Regions from separate parts of the Homo sapiens genome. Here region 1 is linked to region 2. The links are contacts of gene promoters, found by promoter capture Hi-C in human tissues and cell types (Jung and others, 2019). All regions are on one chromosome and are shown on one strand. Each heading gives the region's core, a stretch centred on a gene start or on the middle of the fragment in contact. The rest is flanking DNA. Distances are from core to core; before and after follow the strand shown.

Region 1 (3,877 bases), core at 1,101-3,600, 97 kb before region 2:
ACTAAACTAAAAATATTTTCAAAAACTAAAGCTAAAAAAAGTTTACCATTGACATCTATTGCTGAAAAAACTACTAATCTGATGTACTTCAGAAAAAATATAATTGAACTCAAAACAGGGTGTGAAGCAAGAAGAAATAATGAGCAGACAGGTTAATCAAAAGCATTGATTTAAAACAGCAAGATCATCTAATCCAGAAGAGCCAAAAGCAAGCAAAACTAAAATACTAAGGAAACATAACATGGAAGATTGAAGGGGCAGTTTTAAATCTTTGTATATTGGGGAGGGGAAACAAAGAAATATTGACCAGTAAAGTATGCATGATAGAATTTTTACTGTAACTAATAAAATATTTGAAATAGAAGGAATACGTTCAAGCCAATAGAAGGAGATGAAGGAGTGTTGTAATGAAAACAAACAAAATAATAAAAGAAAAAAGGAAGATGAAGAGGAAAAATAAAAGCACATGGACAGAGTTCTTGGAGGTCTAGTTTCTGGTTCAAATTCAAAACTCATCCCAGCCCCTGTTGAGGTTGGGCGCCACCTGGTGGTGATCATCTACTCTGGCTTGAATATTGATGGGTGGTTTCTGAGTCCAGGAACTGGCTGGGGACCCACTCTCTGCCTCCACTGCCTGCCATTTCTCCTCTGCCTAGTCCTCTTCCACATACGTAGAAGATGAAGACTTTAATTCACCTCCTGATTAAGAACAAGGGCTGGGCAGACCGTGGGAGCTCATCACCGACTGCGTTAGACCAAAATTTGTGTTTTGACCAGGAGTTATGACATTCAAAGAAATAATAAAAGCTCAAAATTTATGATTGAATATTCAACTCCAGGAGTTAAAAAAAAATGAACAGGGTAACCCAAGGAAAGCAGAATGAAAGAAATGACAAAGGTAAGTAAGGATTCAATGAGTTAGAAAATAAACAACAGATGTCAAGAAAATCTAAGTTTTTCTTAAAAGGTAACTAAATTAACACCTGGCACAGAAAAAAGTATACACAATTAAAAATGTTAAAACGGAGCATAATTGGGGATGTTCCAAGATGGCCAAAAAGGAACAGCTCCGGTCTGCAGTTCCCAGCATGATCAATGCAGAAGACGGGTGATTTCTGCATTTCCAACTGAGGTACCTGGTTCATCTCATTGGAACTGGTTGGACAGTGGGTGCAGCCCACAGAGGGCAAGCTGAAGCAGGGTGGGGCATAGCCTCACCCAGGAAGTGCAAGGGGTCGGGGGATTTCCCTTTCCAAGCCAAGGGAAGCCGTGACAGATTTCCCTTGGCTAGGAAAAGCCAAGAAAACAGGACCTGGAAAAACAGGACACTCCTGCCAAAATACTGCACTTTTCCCAAGGTCTTAGCAACTGGCAGACAAGGAGGTTCTCTCCCGTGCCTGGCTCCATGGGTCCCACACCCACAGAGCCTTGCTCACTGCTAGCACAGCAGTCTGAGATCAAACTGCAAGGCAGCAGCCTGGCTGGGGAAGGGGCATCCGCCATTGCAGAGACTTGAGTAGGTAAACAAAGCAGCCAGGAAACTCGAAATGGGTGGAGCCCACTGCAGTTCAACAAGGCCCACTGCCTCTAGACTCCACCTCTGTGGGCAGAGCATAGCTGAACAAAAGGCAGCAGACAACTTCTGCTAACTTTAACATCCCTGTCTGACAGCTCTGAAGAGAGCAGTGGTTCTCCCAGCACGGCATTTGAGCTCTGACAACGGACAGACTGCCTCCTCAAGTGGGTCCTGACCCCCATGTGGCCTAACTGGGAGATACCTCCCAGTAGCAGCTGACAGACACTTCATATAGGTGGCTGCCCCTCTGGGATGAAGCTTCCAGAGGAAGGATCAGGCAGCAATATTTGCCGTTCTGCAGCTTCCGCTGGTGATACCCAGGCAAACAGGGTCTGGAGTGAACCTCCAGCAAACTCCAACACACCTGCACCTGAGGGACCTGACTATTAGAAGGAAAACTAACAAAACAGAAAGGAATAGCATCAACATAAACAAAAAGGTCATCTACACCAAAACCCCATCTGTAGATCACCAACATCAAAGACCAAAGGCAGAGAAAACCACAAAGTTGGGGAGAAACCAGAGCAGAAAAGCTGAACATTCTAAAAATCAGAGCACCTCTTCTCCTCCAAAGGATTGCAGCTCCTCGCCAGCAACGGAACAAAGCTGGACAGAGAATGACTTTGATGAGTTGGCAGAAGTAGGCTTCAGAAGGTCAGTAATAACAAACTTCTCTGAGCTAAAGGAGGATGTTCGAACTTATTGCAAGGAAGCTAAAAACCTGGAAAAAAGATTAGACGAATGGCTAACGAGAATAAACAGTGTAAAGAAGACCTTAAATGACCTGATGGAGCTGAAAACCATGGCACGAGAACTTCATGACTTATGCACAAGCTTCAATAGCCAATTCAGTCAAGTGGAAGAAAGGGTATCAGTGATTGAAGATCAAATTAATGAAATAAAGGGAGAAGAGAAATTTAGAAAAAAAAGAGTAAAAACAAATGAACAAAGCCTCCAAGAAATATGGGACTATGTGAGAAGACCAAATCTACATTTGATTGGTGTACCTGAAAGTGATGGGGAGAATGGAATCAAGTTGGAAAACACTCTTCAGGATATTATCCAGGAGAACTTCCCCAACTTAGCAAGGCAGGCCAGCATTCAAATTCAGGAAATACAGAGAACACCACGAAGATACTCCTCAAGAAGTGCAACCCCAAGACACATATTTGTCAGATTCACCAAGGTTGAAATGAAGGAAAAAGTGTTAAGGGCAGCCAGAGAGAAAGGTCAGGTTACCCACAAAGGGAAGCCCATCAGACAAACAGCAGATCTCTAGGCAGAAACCCTACAAGCCAGAAGAGAGTAGGTGCTAATATTTAACATTCTTAAAGAAAAGAATTTTCAACCCAGAATTTCATATCCAGCCAAACTAAGCTTCATAATTGAAGAAGAAATAAAATCCTTTATAGACAAGCAAATGCTGAGAGATTTTGTCACCACCAGGCCTGCCTTACAAGAGCTCCCCAAGAAAGCACTAAACATGGAAAGAAACAACCAGTAACAACCACTGCAAAAACATGCCAAATTGTAAAGACCATCAATGCTATGAAGAAACTGCATCAATTAACAGGCAAAATAACTAGCAAACATCATAACGACAGGATCAAATTCACACATAACAATCTTAACCTTAAATGTAAATGGGTTAAATGCTCCAATTAAAAGACACAGACTGGCAAATTGGATAAACAGTCAAGACCCATCAGTGTGCTGTATTCAGGAGACCCATCTCACATGCAAAGACACACATAGGCTCAAAATAAAGGGATGGAGGAAGATCTACCAAGCAAATAGAAAGCAAAAAAAAACAGGGGTTGCAATCCTAGTCTGATAAAACAGACTTTAAACTAACAAAGATCAAAAGTGACAAAGAAGGCCATTACATAATGGTAAAGGGTTCAATACAACAAGAAGAGCTAACTATCCTAAATATATATACACCTAATACAGGAGCACCCAGATTCATAAAGCAAGTCTTTAGAGACCTACAAAAGAGACTTAGGCTCCCACACAATAATAATGGGAGATTTTAACATCCCACTCTCAATATTAGACAGATCAATGAGATAGAAGGTTAACAAGGATATCCAGGACCTGAACTCAGCTCTGCAACTAGCAGACCTAATAGACCTCTACAGAACTCTCCACCCCAAATCAACAGAGTGTACATTCTTCTCAGCACCACATCACACTTATTCTAAAATTGAGCACATAATTGGAAGTAAAGCACTCCTCAGCAAATGTAAAAGAACAGAAATCACAACAAACTATCTCTCAGACCATGGTGCAATCAAATTA
Region 2 (3,927 bases), core at 602-3,101:
GGTTTTCCAGCCCTTTTTCTTGCCTATTAACAAAAATAAAAACAAAAAATGGAAATGCCACTGGGCTTGAAACCCCATTTAAAATCAGATTTCTCTTTCGAGTTCCCTTGCAATACAAGTCAAAGTCATTTCCACCAAAAAAAAAAAGCGGTGGGGGGGGGGGGTGTGCAAATTAATCCTAAACTCATGGCTCAGATAGGACCTGGTATAGTAAATAAATGCTTTTAAAAGTAGTCATGGCATTGAGAAATGGCTCCATGCACCTAAACCAGAGGCACCAATGTAAAAACTAGTAATTGTGTTTTAACACAAAAGATTGAAAAGCGTTTTGTTTCACATCCTAATATTATTCCACCCACTTAAAAAGAGTTACTTAATATTGACTCTGTATTAGGTATAAGACAAGTTCTTGCCCTCAAAGAACTTATAATTTAGTTGAGAAACCAAAACTTAACATGAGCTTAAAAAGAAGGATGCAGTACAAAACATGGTATAATTAAGTGCTAAACAATGTAGTATAGATGCTCAGTGACCTAGGAGATCAGAGGAAGGGAAGGGTCACTGAGGGCTGGGAATGTCAAAAGCATGTACTTTCAGTAAGTTCTTAAAATGATAGCATGTTAGAAAGCTGTTATAATTGCTGCTGATTTGTAATTTTAAAGCATTGACATGATTCACCATTGCTTTCCAACCAGTAGCTGTTTAAAAGGACATACAGTTGAGGGTGAAAGGAGATATTTCTTTATGATCTCCAGAGATTTGTATTGAGGGGAAAAAAGACATACTTTCTTGTTGAATAATAGACCAAGAATTGAGCATATTTTGCATGGGGAATATTAAATTCAGTGAACAAGAATCCAAACCTCAGGCTGTGATTCTGGTATAAATTTTTGTTTCTAATGAACCATTTTCTTCCTTCTAAAGAAGATTTAAGTTTTGGGAATAAGTCACCTCAAAAAAATTTTTTTTTATTTTCTAATATCTATTTTCACAATTTATTTTTCTTTTAAGAAAAGTGGACTAGAAGCTCAAGTTACCTTCTCAAGGCAATGAGAATTTTTTAGCTCTAAAAAAGTTGTGTGTGGTAGGGAGAACATTTAGCATCCTTTAAAATGGAGACATCTGAACAGCAACCTATCTTTTGAATCACCAAATCTCAAGTGTACTTTGCACTCTTGGTCTTAAAATGCTTTTCATTTTCTAGTTTGGCAAAAATTCCAGTCTCTTTACATTTGCTACCTTTTCCGTCTTTGCAACACAGGCAGTGTGAGCTAAATTAGGTTTGTTAAAATGAAGTTTTGAAGTTTCAACTGCTGAAATAGAGGCATGTCCCTAACTTTAGACAAATTTAGAGAATCGTAGTAAGCATTATTTTTTTTCTACATACTTGTCTGCATTCAGTGTCTTCCCAAGAAACGTCAGTTAATTCCCCGATTCGAAAAAGGAACTTTCTCGTAACAGTTGTACAACCAGGCTAAAGAGCACACCCTCGTCTTCCCTGAAAGGGAGGAAACATGCAATAATGTGAGGTAATTAAATTTAGCCTTAGAAAAGTCTTTGAAACGTTCTAATCAAGACTTTCAGCTTTCCGATTGTGTGCGCTTTATTTTTCAATTCTTCCTAGTCCCGGTTTTGCATTTCTAATGACAGTGAACTGACAAAGCGTGAAAGTGGTCTAAGGAGCAAAACAAAGCCAGCAAGCCTGCTTCTGGTGTGCCAAGATTAATCAATATTCCAGAAACCTCGGGGTTTCCCCCTCCTCCCTGTGCGGTTTCCATTCCCCACTCCTCCTTTCCCGGGCACAGACTCCTCCCCTTTTCTTAAGTTGCCCTGATAGTAACTTGCAGTTTCAGAGCACATGCACACTGTCAGGGCTAGCCTGCCTGCTTACGCGCGCTGCGGATTGTTGCTCCGTTGTACCTGCTGGGGAATTCACCTCGTTACTGCTTGATATCTTCCACCCCTTACAAAATCAGAAAAGGTAAGTGTCACATTCTGTGTTCCTGCTGGGTTTAATTTCTCCTTTCACTTCTCTGCCGATGTATTTTGCCTTCCAAGCAGAGGAGTAGCCTGAATCAAGGCTAGCCATTTTGGTAGATAAAGTCCTTGTTAGTCATCTCACGTCGTGAGAGTGTGGTGTCTGTTTATGCCGGGTCCGCTGTTAATTCGGAGTTGAGTCATTCGGGGTGGATTGGGGGCAGATTGTGGCGCGAGATCTAGAAAAGGATCAAGGTTGAGCGGATCTGCTTAAAAGTGACTGGTAAGAGGAATCAGAGCTATTAGTTTAAAAAAAAAAAAAATCTGGTCTCTCCTATTTCCCGGTCTTCACTTCTCCCTAAGCATTTAATCCAGTGTGAAGTCTTAAACAAATTAGAAGTCTTAGTATCACTGACCCCAACTTGCAATTTTATTTAAAAGGCAAACTGTTAAGACAAGTCTTTTTTTTTCCTGCACTGGGATTGCGAGAAGTCATTTGCGAGGAGTCCTTTGGTTTCCAGTTACCTCCCCCACAGGCGCACACGCTGGCTGCTTGCGTTGGCAGCGACACACATCCATGGTACGGCTGGTTTTCACTCGGATTGATTATGGGAAGGGCTATGGATTAGAGCTCCTGTAAAGCACCAGGAGGAATCCCTTGATTTTTCAGAACAGCTGATTTCCACCAGGAAAGAGATTTACTGAAATGTAGTTAAATAGCGTGAGTGCTTTAAAGAAACCAGAAACCACAAGCTGTAATGTTTGGAATGAAAATTGGTTTCATCTCATCTGTTCTAGAAATCCTAAATTTTAAAACGCTAAAAAGTCAGCGATAGTTTCCTCGGAAGATTCCAGCATGTGTGTCACAAAGAAAAACACTACTTCATACTTCTACTTGTGATAAACGAAGCTGAATTGTGATTTCAGATGATTTATAGATGTGCCCAGAGCACTTTGCTTATTTCATGGAAAAAAAATGAAAAAATTACCCTGTAAAATAGTCACATGTATTTCCCATGTACTGTGGGCACTTGTGTTCTTTTTATGACCATATTTACTAGTAGATATTATTATATTTTTTTCTTAATGAAGAAAATAGCTGGTTACTTTACTGCATGTAACAGAGACAACTCCCACCTATCAGTATCTTAATTATTTTTATTGACCTGGTTATGCTTTCAACCATGTATACAGCATAATTTGTCAAGTAATGATTGAATACTTTCTGTGCATTCAGTTCAATTGGACATTTACTGATTGTGTACGTTGTGCAAGGCATCAGCTGGGTTCTGCGGGGGAGGGTGGGAATAGGGGTTCTCAGTCAGATCTAGCTCTGAAGAACCCTTTTATAGCCTCATTGGAAGGGGAAGGACGGATTTTTAAAAAGAAAATAGAATATATTCCGAATTTATGCACATTTCTCACACGTGGTCCACTAAAATATGCACACTGCAACCTTGAGGTCTGGTATTGTGGCTCTCCAGTCCTTGATTCCTGCTGAGATTATGCAATTTGCCAAGAGCTTGCCTGGTGTGGAGCAGCACTGATTTCTCACCCCTGGAGGCTATAACTCATGTCTCTTTTTCTCCCATTCTAGTTGTGTTTTCTAATACCAAAGAGGAGGTTTGGCTTTCTGTGGGTGATTCCCAGACACTGAAGTGCAAAGAAGAGACCCTCCTAGAAAAGTAAAATATGACTAAAAGCAATGGAGAAGAGCCCAAGATGGGGGGCAGGATGGAGAGATTCCAGCAGGGAGTCCGTAAACGCACACTTTTGGCCAAGAAGAAAGTGCAGAACATTACAAAGGAGGATGTTAAAAGTTACCTGTTTCGGAATGCTTTTGTGCTGCTCACAGTCACCGCTGTCATTGTGGGTGAGTCATTTGATTAAAAACAAAAAAACCTGTATCTTGTTTCTCTGGGGCATCTGGCTGCCCGGGGAATATTATCA

What was found. The method cuts DNA at HindIII sites, captures the fragments that hold promoters and counts their contacts. A contact is called where the count stands out against the background at its distance.
Region 1: a contact is called between a fragment that was not itself captured here and the fragment with the promoter of SLC1A3 in region 2, in 2 of the 25 tissues and cell types used here (bladder and small bowel).

The regions. Positions count from the first base shown.
Region 1 is chr5:36,506,982-36,510,858 of GRCh38, forward strand. No RefSeq gene overlaps it. Among named protein-coding and RNA genes, the nearest start is that of SLC1A3, 98 kb to the right of the region's middle. The HindIII fragment of the contact is 3,090 bases long and covers 806-3,877 here.
Region 2 is chr5:36,604,755-36,608,681 of GRCh38, forward strand. SLC1A3 (solute carrier family 1 member 3) reads left to right here and starts at 1,852. Exons shown (of 10, transcript NM_004172.5): 1 at 1,852-1,981; 2 at 3,575-3,850. The coding sequence starts at 3,670. RefSeq lists an enhancer at 1,959-2,058. The HindIII fragment of the contact is 11,728 bases long and covers 1-3,927 here.